Regions from separate parts of the Homo sapiens genome. Here regions 1, 2, 4 and 5 are each linked to region 3. Evidence: promoter capture Hi-C in 16 types of primary human blood cells and fetal thymus (Javierre and others, 2016). All regions are on one chromosome and are shown on one strand. Each heading gives the region's core, a stretch centred on a gene start or on the middle of the fragment in contact. The rest is flanking DNA. Distances are from core to core; before and after follow the strand shown.

What was found. Contacts are between HindIII fragments. The CHiCAGO score rates a contact against its expected background, and 5 or more counts as called.
Region 1: a contact is called between a fragment that was not itself captured here and the fragment with the promoter of TM4SF1 in region 3, in 2 of 17 cell types (M2 macrophages and M1 macrophages). The highest score is 6.1, in M2 macrophages.
Region 2: a fragment that was not itself captured here is called in contact with the fragment with the promoter of TM4SF1 in region 3 in 1 of 17 cell types (megakaryocytes); the score reaches 5.2 in megakaryocytes.
Region 4: a fragment that was not itself captured here is called in contact with the fragment with the promoter of TM4SF1 in region 3 in 3 of 17 cell types (M0 macrophages, M1 macrophages and M2 macrophages); the score reaches 9.5 in M0 macrophages.
Region 5: a fragment that was not itself captured here is called in contact with the fragment with the promoter of TM4SF1 in region 3 in 2 of 17 cell types (M1 macrophages and M0 macrophages); the score reaches 6.7 in M1 macrophages.

What each region holds. Positions count from the first base shown.
Region 1 is chr3:149,784,817-149,787,516 of GRCh38, reverse strand. All of the region lies in intron 2 of ANKUB1 (ankyrin repeat and ubiquitin domain containing 1), which reads left to right. Among named protein-coding and RNA genes, the nearest start is that of ANKUB1, 6.4 kb to the left of the region's middle. The HindIII fragment of the contact is 4,947 bases long and covers 1-2,700 here.
Region 2 is chr3:148,960,018-148,962,717 of GRCh38, reverse strand. No RefSeq gene overlaps it. Among named protein-coding and RNA genes, the nearest start is that of GYG1, 30 kb to the left of the region's middle. The HindIII fragment of the contact is 935 bases long and covers 817-1,751 here.
Region 3 is chr3:149,376,233-149,378,932 of GRCh38, reverse strand. It overlaps TM4SF1 (transmembrane 4 L six family member 1), which reads left to right and starts at 1,284. Exons shown (of 5, transcript NM_014220.3): 1 at 1,284-1,562. The coding sequence starts at 1,386. TM4SF1-AS1 (TM4SF1 antisense RNA 1) reads right to left here and starts at 1,155. Exons shown (of 2, transcript NR_109810.1): 1 at 618-1,155. The HindIII fragment of the contact is 5,350 bases long and covers 1-2,037 here.
Region 4 is chr3:149,728,092-149,730,791 of GRCh38, reverse strand. No RefSeq gene overlaps it. Among named protein-coding and RNA genes, the nearest start is that of COMMD2, 23 kb to the left of the region's middle. The HindIII fragment of the contact is 3,060 bases long and covers 1-2,700 here.
Region 5 is chr3:149,749,621-149,752,320 of GRCh38, reverse strand. It overlaps COMMD2 (COMM domain containing 2), which reads left to right. Exons shown (of 5, transcript NM_016094.4): 2 at 34-111; 3 at 836-918; 4 at 1,470-1,643. Among named protein-coding and RNA genes, the nearest start is that of COMMD2, 1.5 kb to the left of the region's middle. The HindIII fragment of the contact is 2,270 bases long and covers 305-2,574 here.

The DNA.
Region 1 (2,700 bases), core at 103-2,602, 410 kb before region 3:
GTTTGCAGATGACATGATTGTATATTTAGAAAACCCCATTGTCTCAGCCCAAAATCTCCTTAAGCTAATAAGCAACTTCAGCAAAGTCTCAGGATACAAAATCAATGTGCAAAAATCACGAGTATTCCTATACACCTATAACAGACAGAGAGCCAAATCATGAGTGAATTCCCATTCACAATTGCTACAAAGAGAATAAAATACCTAGGAATCCAACTTACAAGGGATGTGAAGGACCTCTTCAAGGAGAACTACAAACCACTGCTCAACGAAATAAAAGAGGACACAAACAAATGGAAGAACATTCCATGCTCATGGATAGGAAGAATCAATATTGTGAAAATGGCCATACAGCCCAAGGTAATTTATAGATTCAATGCCATCCCAATCAAGCTACCAGTGACTTTCTTCACAGAATTGGAAAAAACTAGTTTAAAGTTCATATGGAACCAAAAAAGAGCCCGCATTGCCAAGATGATCCTAAGCCAAAAGAACAAAGCTGGAGGCATCATGCTACCTGACTTCAAACTATACTATAAGGCTAAAGTAACCAAAACAGCATGGTACTGGTACAAAAACAGATATATAGACCAATGGAACAAGACAGAGCCCTCAGAAATAATATCACACATTGACAACCATCTGATCTTTGACAAACCTGACAAAAACAAGAAATGGGGAAAGCATTCCCTATTTAATAAATGGTGCTGGGAAAACTGGCTAGCCAAAGTAGAAAGTTGAAACTTCCTTACACCTTATACAAAAATTAATTCAAGATGGATTAAAGACTTAAATGTTAGACCTAAAACCATAAAAACACTAGAAGAAAACCTAGGCAATACCATTCGGGACATAGGCATGGGCAAGGACTTCATGACTAAAACACCAAAAGCAATGGCAACAAAAGCCAAAATTGATAAATGGGATCTAATTAAACCAAAGAGTTTCTGCACAGCAAAAGAAACTACCATCAGAGTGAAGAGGCAACCTACAGAATTGGAGAAAATTTTTACAATCTACCCATCTGACAAATGGCTAATATCCAGAATCTACAAAGAACTTAAACAAATTTGCAAGAAAAAATCAAACAACCCCATCAAAAAGTGGGCAAAGGACATGAACAGATGCTTCTCAAAAGAAGACATTTATGCAGCCAAAAGACACATGAAAAAATGCTCATCAGGCTGGGAGCGGTGGCTCACGCCTGTAATCCCAGCACTTTGGGAGGTCGAGGTGGGTAGATCATGAGGTCAGGAGCTCGAGACCATCCTGGCTAACACAGTGAAACCCCGTTTCTACTAAAAGTACAAAAAATTAGCCGGGCGCGTTGGCGGGTGCCTGTAGTCCCAGCTACCGGGGAGGCTGAGGCAGGAGAATGGTGTGAACTCAGGAGGTGGAGCTTGCAGTGAGCCGAGATAGCACCACTGCACTCTGGCCTGGGCGAAAAAGCGAGACTCTGTCTCAAAAAATAAATAAATAAATAAATAAATAAAAGCTCATCATCACTGGCCATCAGAGAAATGCAAATCAAAACCACAATGAGATACCATCTCACACCAGTTAGAACGGTGATCATTAAAAAGTCAGGAAACAACAGGTGCTGGAGAGGATGTGGAGAAATAAGAACACTTTTACACTGTTGGTGGGACTGTAAACTAGTTCAATCATTGTGGAAGACAGTATGGAGATTCCTCAAGGATCTAGAACTGGAAATACCATTTGACCCAGCCATCTCTTTACTGGGTATATATACAAAGGATTATCAATCATGCTGCTATAAAGACACATGCACATGTATGTTTATTGCAGCACTATTCACAACAGTAAAGACTTGGAACCAACCCAAATGTCCATCAGTGATAGACTGGATTAAGAAAATGTGGCACATATACACCATGGAATACTATGCTGCCATAAAAAAGGATGAGTTCATGTCCTTTGTAGGGACATGGATGAAGCTGGAAACCATCATTCTCAGCAAACTATGGCAAGGATAGAAAACCAAACACCACATGTTCTCACTCATAGGTAGGAACTGAACAATGAGAACACTTGGACACAGGGTGGGGAACATCACACACTGCGGCCTGTCGTGGGGTTGGGGGAAGGGGGAAGGACAGCATTAGGAGATATACCTAATGTAAATGACGAGTTAATGGGTGCAGCACACCAACATGGCACATGTATACATATGTAACAAACCTGCACGTTGTGCACATGTACCCTAGAACTTAAAATGTAATAAATAATAATAATAATAATAAAGAACATTGTATTAACTTTTCCTTCTTTGGAAAAGAACTCTTACGGAAGCCATAATCAATATTTTCTATGGTATATACCTCCAATTTCTATTAATACAGGAGCCAGTCCTGACGATTTATTGCTGATGGTGTTGCGGTTCACTGTGTTCCTATAAACCATAGCATGAGGCACTGCAAAAGTGTATGTTTTTGTACAACATGCAGAGGCACTATCACTTTTGCCCCCTTCATTTTAACCTGTGTTATCATGGAAACGATTGCTTAAGTTTTGTCCACTGTTTTCACCCAGTGCTTAGAATAGTACTAGATAAGATATATAGTAGGCTGTACATAAATAGGTATTAAATAAATGAATTGATAAAGGTTTGAGAGGTAAAGTATGGAAATTAACAAGATGGTATATGATTGTCTGCAATTCATAGCAAGGTACTGAGAT
Region 2 (2,700 bases), core at 35-2,534, 420 kb after region 3:
ATTAGGAGTCCTTTTCTTTCCCTGTGTGACTCATCTCCTCCTGGGTAGAGGAGGGGAGGACAGCCTTGGGATAAGGGGAAGTATCAAGAAGCTGCTGAGCCTATGAGAGGACAACCCAGAAACCACATTTCCTCTCTTAAGCTCCCCATCATATAACTAGTCAATGCTTTCTAGACACTCCAGATATAATTATTGGGATGATACACTACAAACTTTTCAAAATGTATTTGACATAGCCTGTAATAATCCAAATGAGAACAGAGACAACAAGAAGGCACACCTGTAGCTCATTTGTTTCCGCTGTTTCAATTGCTCTAATTCCCCTTTTCCAGTAGCCCATTAGGATCACCTGCCAAATTGACTTATTTAATGAAATTTCTGATGTACATTCATGTGTTTTCTAAAATAATCTCTTTAAGAAAGCACATTTTTCCTTCTCAAATGCAGTTCTGCCTTTTCTTGATAGGAACCCCATTCTAACATCACTACTGACTGTATTGAAATGAATGAATACATTATAAAGCACTTTATCTTTATTGCTGCCTGAAGTGGAGAATATAATTGCCAGCTGTGTATCCCAGGCACATAATTCCATTACTAGGTTCTTACGGAGCCATCAGTCCCATGGATGGTCCTTTGCTTGACAAACCAGCCCATCAAATTCCAAATCTGCCTTAATGGCAAATGCCACCTCTCGATCAGGTCACTGCTCCAGCCTGAATTCAGCAAATGTTACCAGAATACTTACCCTGGGGTACCCACGCTGCTCTTAGTTACGGGGTGCCTATCTTGCTCTTAGTTCTGCTCAAAAAAGCTTGTCATGCTTGAGGTCACAGCTTTTGGTCAAGGGTCCTTCCAGGATGAAGCTGATCTACGTTTTCTTGGACTGTCCACAAACATCCTTAACAGGTGCTAACTCTATTTTTAAATACTCTAGCAATATTTGTATGGGGAGCAGGGGCCAGCCACTATTCGGAAGTGGGCTGGTGAGGATTTTGATAGTGTTTTGGCTTTTTTGTGTTGGCTGGGTGGTGACACAGTTTCTTCAGATATCTTTAAATATATCATAGTCTACCAAATAAAGATTAGTTGAGGTGTGTGGGTTGGGGAGAAAGTGGTTAAGAAAACTTTTCTGCCAGCATACAAACTACCCTGGCTTCATACTTTGCTCTAAATTTCTGTGTAATCCCAGGGTTTTAGAGGTAAACCTGTACGGATCTCCTATCTTACACAAGAGGGATGAGCACTCACATTTACTGAGGCCACATGAGGGCTTGGCGCAGTTGGGAGCTTTTCATTTACTCTCTCAGTTGGCTGATGAGGAAACTGCTGGTACTTTTGTCCTAGCACACAAAGAATATAACCATCCTGAAGGAAAGAGAGTTTTGATTAAAGAGGGGAGGGTGAGAGAAGGAGTAACACTGGGGCAGGGCAGAGGATGGTATGCATGGATGGGTTTGCTGGAAGGAGAGGAGGACTCAGGAGACCCGGTGGTAGGAGGGTGATATGAAGAGGAGGGTGGCCCAGGATACACTGAGCACACTTTTGCACGTTAGTGGAAGACACTGGAAGTACAATGTCTGATACAATTTCTGGGCTGCCTTTGCCACAATATTCCAGGTTGCTGATATCTGCTTTCAAGGTAAGTTTGTCTGATTAGAATCTAGAGAAGTGTTTGAGAAAGCAAAGAGGGGTGAAAATGTTATTACTATTATTTTAGTGGTGGTAATCATTACCACCTGCTGAAAGCTTAATATGTGCTACAAACTGCTATGTGTATGATGTATCTTACATAAGTTAATTTTTACGAAAAACTTGGAGGTTGGTGTTCTTATGCTTATTTTAGAGGTGGATGAACTTTCTTGGCCAGATTCTCACAGCAAATGGGAGATCTGGGATTTGAATGCAGATTTGTCTAGCTCCCAAATTTATGTGATGGAATATCAAATAAATAACTTAATCTCTACTCATAAAACATGGATTCCATATCCCTTTTAGAACCATTTTTATGTGATTCAAGCCAATCCAGAGCATAACAACACTAGAAGATATAATAGCAGTAAGATAAACTGCCTCTTTAGCTATTTCCAAATTCATGGTCTCAATTAAGCCTTTTTCACATGTGCTGGCCCTTGTAATTCCTGATGTACTTTTCCTAATTCCAAATGTCTGGTAACAATTTATGATGTATAATTAAATGGGCTACCCTCCTTTTATCACGCCTTCTAGATATAGTCCCATCACATGAAACAAAGCGAAGCAAAACACTTCTTTGATTTAATGTTGACAGTCTCACATTCTCATTCTTATTAAGCTAATAACATTTAAAGATGATACTGAGGCTCTTTAATAATCCAGCAAGAAGAAAAATACAATTAGGCAATGATATGGTTTGGCTGTGCCCCCATTCAAATCTTGTCTTGAATTCCCAAGTGGGAAGGGAACCTGTGGAACTTGTGGGAGGGACCTGGTGAGAGGTAATTGAATCATGGGGGCAAGTCTTTCCTGTGCTGTTTTCGTGATACTGAATAAGTCTCACGAGATCTGATGGATTTAAAAAGAGGAGTTCCCCTGCATAAGCTCTCTTTGCCTGCTGCCATCCATGTAAGACATGACTTGTTCTTCCTTGCCTTCCACCATAATTGTGAGGCTTCCCCAGCCATGTGGAACTGTAAGTCCAATTAAACCTCTTTCTTTTGT
Region 3 (2,700 bases), core at 35-2,534:
TCTCTATCTTGTCCTGGTGACAAGGCCCTCCAGGCCTGGCCCCACCCGGCCACCCTGTCCACCTCCCACCACCATCCACTGGCTGGTGCAATCTGCTGTTCAAGGCATAAATTTATTCAGTGCCCAGCCCCTCCTTCTGCAAGGTAACCACCTAGAAAGTTAGTCTAACACCCTTTCTCTGCCCTGTGTGGGGAGCCTGTGGAAGCTGGTCTCAGGATCTGGCTGGGTAAACCATCTGTTTACCTCTGTGTGGGTTCTGACACTCCTAGCCAGTTCTGTTTCTCTGAACCTTGTTTCTCCACTCTGCTTGCCAAGTCCCTTTGTCTTATTTTTTTCTCCCTCTCCCTCCTTCCTTCCCTCCCCCCATCCTTCCTTCCTTTTTTCCTTCCTTCCTTCCTCCCTCCCTCCCTTCCTCCCTTTTTCCCTCTCTCCTTCTCTCCCTCCTTCTCTTCTTTCCTTCCTCTCTTCCTTCCTCCTTTCCTCTTTCCTTCTCTCCCATTCTCTTCCTCCCCCTCTCTTCTTCCTCTTTTTATTTTTGTCCCATGCTTTAGGCCTTCCTTGGCCCTTCCTGGCATTGCTTTTCCTGACAGCAACACTCAATAATTTTTAAAAAGCACCTGAGCCCTTTGTGTTGACTGATGCCACCTCTGTTGTGGTGCAGATTTGTTTTAGAGGCAGATGTCCAGGGACGCTGAACACTGAAATCCATCCTGCAGAGCTTGCTGTAGGCAGAGTAAAGAAGTTTGCTCTGTAGTTTTCCCAACAGCCTTCTCAAATCCATGGGAGACGTCTCAGACACCTTGTATTTAATAGACAAGGAAATGAGCTCAGGAGATTTGCCCCAGGTTGTAAATTAAATCAGCACAAAGGTAGAAATGAACACAGAGCTCTCAGATTGGAAGCTGTCCAGACAGCTGCATGGAGCAGGGGCACAGCTCACTGTCTTTCAAAGCCTCAACCAGGGCTGTTGCATCTCGGACACTTGGCAGTTACTGGAAAGTCATGTTAGGCTTTCCTGTTGATTCTTTATCTTGTGGAGGAGTTGCACAGTCAATGCCTTGTTCAAGATTAATCATTTTCCCTGTTGCCTATGACTGAGGCTGTTTCTCACATCCTGCCCCTGGTTTTGCCTGTCCCAAGGATTTCGTCTGAAGGGCGGGACATTCCCCCTGCCTCTTCGCACCACAGCCAGAGCCTGCCATTAGGACCAATGAAAGCAAAGTACCTCATCCCCTCAGTGACTAAGAATCGCAGTATTTAAGAGGTAGCAGGAATGGGCTGAGAGTGGTGTTTGCTTTCTCCACCAGAAGGGCACACTTTCATCTAATTTGGGGTATCACTGAGCTGAAGACAAAGAGAAGGGGGAGAAAACCTAGCAGACCACCATGTGCTATGGGAAGTGTGCACGATGCATCGGACATTCTCTGGTGGGGCTCGCCCTCCTGTGCATCGCGGCTAATATTTTGCTTTACTTTCCCAATGGGGAAACAAAGTATGCCTCCGAAAACCACCTCAGCCGCTTCGTGTGGTTCTTTTCTGGCATCGTAGGAGGTGGCCTGCTGGTAAGTCATTCAGGATTATTACTGAATTCTCTCCTGTTTCCTAGATGTTTTCATTATGTATTTTCATGGAAAGTTTTTTGTAATGCATATTTCTAAATCAAGTGACTTTTTTGTTGCTGTTCATTCCTTTGAAAGCAGATTATACAAAAGCGAGATTGGTACAGTATAGCGTAGTAATTTTATGAGATGTTGTTTTACAAAATGCTCTTTCAACTAAAAGTGAACTGCCTTTTTGCTAAACTCTATAGGTAGGAAACAGATATTCGCTTTTAAATCAGATTTGAGAGACTATAGAGTTTCTACTAGAACGGGCAGTCATTTAACATTTGCTCTGGGGAGCCGGAAGGGGTTGGCTGGTTCTCTGCCTAAATCAACAGTTTTGAATCCAAATTCTCTGCTGTTTATTTTCAGCCATCTGTGATAGGGAAAAATAATGAATTGTGAGTGCATTGCTATTTTAAAAGAACTCTAAGCTTTCTCCTTTATGTAAGGCTGGGGTGTGGCGTCTAGGAAAAACCCTACAGTTAGCAGCAGGTCGGTGTCTGAAGCTAATAGTGGAATGTGTTATTTTTTCCAAGAATTGTTTTTGATTGAAGTGAGAGGAATTTCCCTGCCAACCTGGGAGCTGAAAGCATTAGCTTCAACCACAGCATGGAAAGAATGTGAGCAAACTTAAGTTTGCTACTTTAAAGTGCTGGGATTAAAAATTTTAAGGAGAAATTTTATGGAATGGTACCATACGTGATAAATTTTCTTAATCAAGTAAAAGATAGTAAAACATTTAAACCTAATACACTGATTATGGCATGGCAAATCTGCCCTAAATTATTTATTTAATGAGATTTTATTTAATTTTATTTTATTTAATGAGACGGGGTTTCGCCATGTTGCCCAGGCTGGTCTTGAACTCATGGGCCCAAGTGACCCTCCTACCTTGGCCTCCCAAAGTGCTGGGATTACAGGCATGAGCCACAGTGCCCGTCTGCCTCAAATTTAAGCATTATTATCATGTTAACATGATTATTTGTCTTAAACATAACATCACACTTAAGTTTCTTTCGATCTTGAACCTGAAGTATTTCATATTTACTATATTTTAAGAGCTTAATATTGTTAAGTTAAAACTATGCATTTGTAT
Region 4 (2,700 bases), core at 163-2,662, 350 kb before region 3:
CCATGCTGCCTTATCATAGGTGCATTAGATTTTGCTGTAATTACTAGGTTAATTTTCTATTTTTTGTGGACTATAACAACTGCGTTTTTCTTGTTTTCCTCTGTATTCCAGATCTGTCACTGTGTCTGGTACATGGTAAGTTTCTATTAAATGTTGAAGGGTGAAAGGGAGCGAGAGAGAAAGGATTATAATATGGAATAGAGTACAAAATTTGCACACATTTTGCTTTTCTGTCACATCAGTATGGTTTGCATTAACCTCACAAGTTACATGTCAGCTTTTTTTTTTTCTTTAATGGAAAGACATATTTAGGACATGTTGTCTGCAGACCCCACTGAATGGACAGAACAAGATACTTAGACCAGTGGTTCTCAGCCGAGGCTGCTCACTGGAATTACTTGAGAATTTTTTAAAATTCTGATTCCTGAGTCCCAACTTTATAGATTCTGGTTTAACTGGCGTGGCATCTGTTAAAGCTCTCCACGTGATTCTGATGTACAGCAAAAATTAAGAACATGACAGTTTTACTACAGCCATTTCTCTATGACTTGCTTCAATGACTGATATTCAAGCCGGTCGAAGAACAAGAAAATCAAACAGTCCAGATTCAGCAGAACCCTGATCCACCCACGTGCTTTCAATTACAACTAAAAATAGCTGGAACAATTAAAAAAGAGTTTGTTGGTACAAATAACTGTCAAGTCCAGAGGTAGTATTGGTTCAGGCAAACATGATCCAGTGGCCTAGAGATGGCCCCAATGCCCCAGTATCTCTCTGCTTCGCTTTCCTGTCTTCGTTTTCTTTCTCCTAATTTAGACTCTTCTTGTGGCCATAGGTGGCTACTAAAGGCACCAGGAAAATGAGCCCGTCTTTGTCATTAACATCATAAGAAAAGTCTTTCAGATTCACTTTGATTGGACTGGTTTAGGTTACCAACCAATTGCTGCATTTAAGAGGTTGGAATATAGTAGGAGTAGAGTCCTCTTCCCAGGAAACACAGCAATCCCCAAATGAAAGTGGGATCTTTTAGAAAGGAAGAAGGGAGATAAATCAATGCTGAGACTATCAATGTCTGCTTTACCCATACAGTGGTTTTGGCTGGCTGCAGAATTTGGTCACAAAACTGTAGCACTACTTTATAGTACATAGTACAGTACTATAAAGTACATACTTTATAAGTAACCCAGATTTCTACATCAATTCCCACAGTTAATGACTACTAAAAAACTAAGCATGATTAGATTAATCATAACACTGTTTAGTGAGAAGAACTTGAGAACGGAAAATTGATTTGGATCCTGCAAACTTAAGTTGCCCCACGTATGGCTTTTGTTTAGTGCCTCAGTAAACAATGTTTTCTTGCTTCATTTTGAAAAATGAAAAATCTTAGATTCTCCAGAGAGAGTTTGATTTGTAGATTCCCACCCTGCCCCCTGCCCCCAGCTGAGTCACCAGCCAGGAACATTTTGTTAAGGTTTATTTTTTACAATTTTTGTTATGAACGCAAGAGTTTTAAATTTCCCCCCCAAATATTGTTGAATTATAACATTGGATATGCCTTTTCTAATTATATATGCTAAAAGAAAAATACCACACACACACACACACACACACACACACACACACTCCCCTAAAATCCCCTTCCAGGCTGGGTGCGGTGGCTCACACCTGTAATTCCAGCATTTTGGGAGGCTGAGGTGGGCAGATCACGAGGTCAGGGGTTCGAGACGAGCCTGACCAACATGGTGAAACCCCATCTCTACTAAAAACACAAAAATTAGCCAGGTGTGCTGGTGTGGCATGCGCCTGTAGTCCCAGCTACTCAGGAGGCTGAGGCAGGAGAATCTCTTTTTTTTTTTTTTTTTTTTTTTTTTTTGAGACGGAGTCTCGCTCTGTCGCCCAGGCGGGACTGCGGACTGCAGTGGCGCAATCTCGGCTCACTGCAAGCTCCGCTTCCCGGGTTCACGCCATTCTCCTGCCTCAGCCTCCCGAGTAGCTGGGACTACAGGCGCCCGCCACCGCGCCCGGCTAATTTTTTGTATTTTTAGTAGAGACGGGGTTTCACCTTGTTAGCCAGGATGGTCTCGATCTCCTGACCTCATGATCCACCCGCCTTGGCCTCCCAAAGTGCTGGGATTACAGGCGTGAGCCACCGCGCCCGGCCCAGGAGAATCTCTTAAACCTGGAAGGCAGAGGTTGCAGTGAGCCAAGATCGCGCCACTGCACTCCAGCCTGGGCGACAGAGCAAGACTCTGTTTCAAAAAAAAAAAAAGTCCCCTTCCTTCTGCCTATCCCCCAGAGAAGGGCAACCCTCCCTAGTTGAAAACTCACTGTTGTAGAACTGGCTGTCACCAACTACCCTTCTGGTTATAATTTGGCTTCTTAAGTTTCCCATAGACAGAAAATGTGCTAACCAGCAAACTTGGATTTGAGGCTTGCTACGTTATGTTTCCCATTGCAAGTTAATTAATTGGCATTCATCAGCCCTTAGAGTCCCATTGTGTCTGTGTGTGCTAACATTTAAGTTTCTGAGTTAATAAAGCTGAGTACCACATTCCAGAACAAAGCCCCTTCCATAAATCTCACTAGAACCAGAGGTGCTATCCCGTCCTGGTGACCAACCAGTTATTCTCCAAGCCACCCTCACCAGACTCCTTTTCCTCCAATTGTACTAGTAAAATCATTTTTAAAAAAGAAAAA
Region 5 (2,700 bases), core at 190-2,689, 370 kb before region 3:
TGGCACTCAACAGCCTTCTGACTTTCATTGCAGTGGTCGCCGAGTTTGGGCGGATTGCTGTGGAATTCCTGAGACGCGGCGCAAACCCAAAAATCTACGAAGGCGCCGCCAGTAAGAAGGGAAAGGGGAAGGCTCCGCAGGCTTCTAGGGCGGTTGCGAGCCATTCCCTGTCTCCCGGGAGAGAAACGGATTATTGCGAGTCCTAGGGTCTTGTTCCGATTGTAGTAGAATAAAACCAGCAGAGCTCTTCAGTCAGGGTGCAAATCCTGCCCGTCCCTTAAGTAGCTGTGAGATTGTTAAAGCTTCTATTAAATCAGTTTTCTCATGGTAAAATGTACATAATACCACCTTACTTTCAGAAATACTGAAAAGTGTTTTGTATAAATATACCAAAGTCTGTGGAATAGCTGGGTCAACTGTAAATTGCAAGTATTTGGTTATCATTATTAGTTGTTCAGATATCCGCTTTTGCTAAAAAAAAAAAAAAAAGTGTTGTTTTACCCCTGGGTAAGAGGCAGTCTCTGGGATTAAGTCAATCCCTGTCGAGTTCCTCTTCTGCCAGACTTGAAGGAGCTACGTATTCAAGAGAAGGGCTACGCACCTGATACTAGTCTCCACAGTTCTGCATTTTGTTAAGGTTACTTGGTGGGAAATACCAAAGGCATTTGGCTGGGAGTGGAATGACAAGGAGCAGGAGCCTCTGGCCAACTTACTGTTTTTCATGCAGTGTTTGAAAACATGTAATAATGAATAGTGTTTATTTTTAAATACAAATATGAACAAGATAAATACTACAGTAGTAATTTATTTGCTCGTTTTTACTTTTCTTTCTCAGGAAAACTCAATGTGAGTAGTGACACTGTCCAGCATGGTGTGGAAGGATTAACGTATCTCCTCACTGAGAGCTCAAAGCTCATGGTAAGGGATTTTCTGGACTGTTTTGTGTTGGCTGGATTCTTAAGAACGGTCTGGTGTACTCTACATCATAGTCCTGGCAGGTACCTGTGTGTTTTAATAATGTTGTTAATGGTTTATAATTGATTTTTTGAAGACATACCTAAAAAATAAAAATCATATCATCTGCTGATATGAATACCTCTTGCTAGTATAAATAGCTAGTATAGAAGTACCTCTAATTCTGCATGTTGTTAAACCATATATGTATCTTAAGAAGATACATAAGAGGAGGGAGACTGTATCAGTATTTTGTTTGCGTATCAGCAGTATCTGGCTTGATGAAGGACAGGAAGGGAAACTGGGCATCTTAACAATTTTTTCCATTTTATACTTTAGTAAAGTACTTTTATGTATTGGTAACACAGATTTTGGAATGGTGGTCAGTGGTTAAGGAATGCTGTTTCTTTTACTAGACAGAATAAATTAGAGGATATCATATTCTTTTGTGTATTTCAATTATTTTAGCTAGACAAAGATAAATTTTGATGTTCTTTTAAACTCAATTCACTTAGATTTCTGAACTGGATTTCCAAGACTCTGTTTTTGTTCTGGGATTCTCTGAAGAATTAAACAAATTGTTGCTTCAGCTTTATCTGGACAACAGAAAAGAGATCAGAACGATTCTGAGTGAATTGGCACCAAGCCTTCCCAGTTATCATAACCTTGAATGGCGACTAGATGTACAGGTATAGCATTTTTAAAATTAACTTAACATAGAATATAAGAATTATTTTAGGTTTGTGTCCTGTTTATTGTATTCTTTACCACCTTAACTAAGATGCGGTTTGAAACTTTGTTTTTTTAATGTTCATTTTTAAGCCATTTCACAAATCATTCATTTTCTTTTATTTTCAGTGTGTTCAAATCAGTTTAATTTGCAAAGTTTGTAAGAAATTGGTTATTTTCGAAAAGGAGATGGTTATATAGATTTTTTAGGTTGGTGCCTAGATGTTTAAAAACTTTTCTGTTTAAATTTAACAGATGTAGAAAAGTGCACAGGTCAATGTACCGCTCAATGAATTATCACATGGTGCATTTAACTGTGACTCACACCCCAGAAGCATCCTCCTTGCCTCCTAATTACTGCCCCTTCACTCCTTTCTAAAGGTAACCAGCATCCTGACTTTTAACACAAATTACATTTACCTGTCTTTTAACTTTGTATATATGGAATGACTCAGTAAATATTCTTTTGTACCTGGCTTCTCTCACAATATTCTTTTTGTGAGATTCATCTTTCAGTTGATTTTAAAGTCACAGAAACGAAAGGGTGTATTCAGACCATTGCTTATAATCCTTTATTAAGCAGAGAGAGATGAGTTAGTAGATGTGTATTGAATGCCATCTATTTGCTGATTAGAGCTGTGCTAAATGCTTTGAGACACAAAAGAAGTGTAAGATACTTTCTCAGCTGGAAAAGATCGTATCACCTTGGTTAGGGATATTAGGCATTCTCAAAATAACTAGTAATTAAAGGTAGTTATAAAATAAGGTTCTTGATGGGGAATAAAGAATATAATTATATGAATGAAGATGACAACTGTTTAAAACAAAAACAACAACAACAACAACAACACGTGTAGTTGTGTGTATGTGCTGGCGTGATCCAAGAAAGCTTCCAGCAAAAGGAAATGAAATTTCAGAAGGATGAATGAATAGAGAAAATTAGGGTAAATATTCTTAGTAGAGAAGGCAGAATATGTTGTAAAAGCCCACATGGATATGCAAATGAGCATATGAATA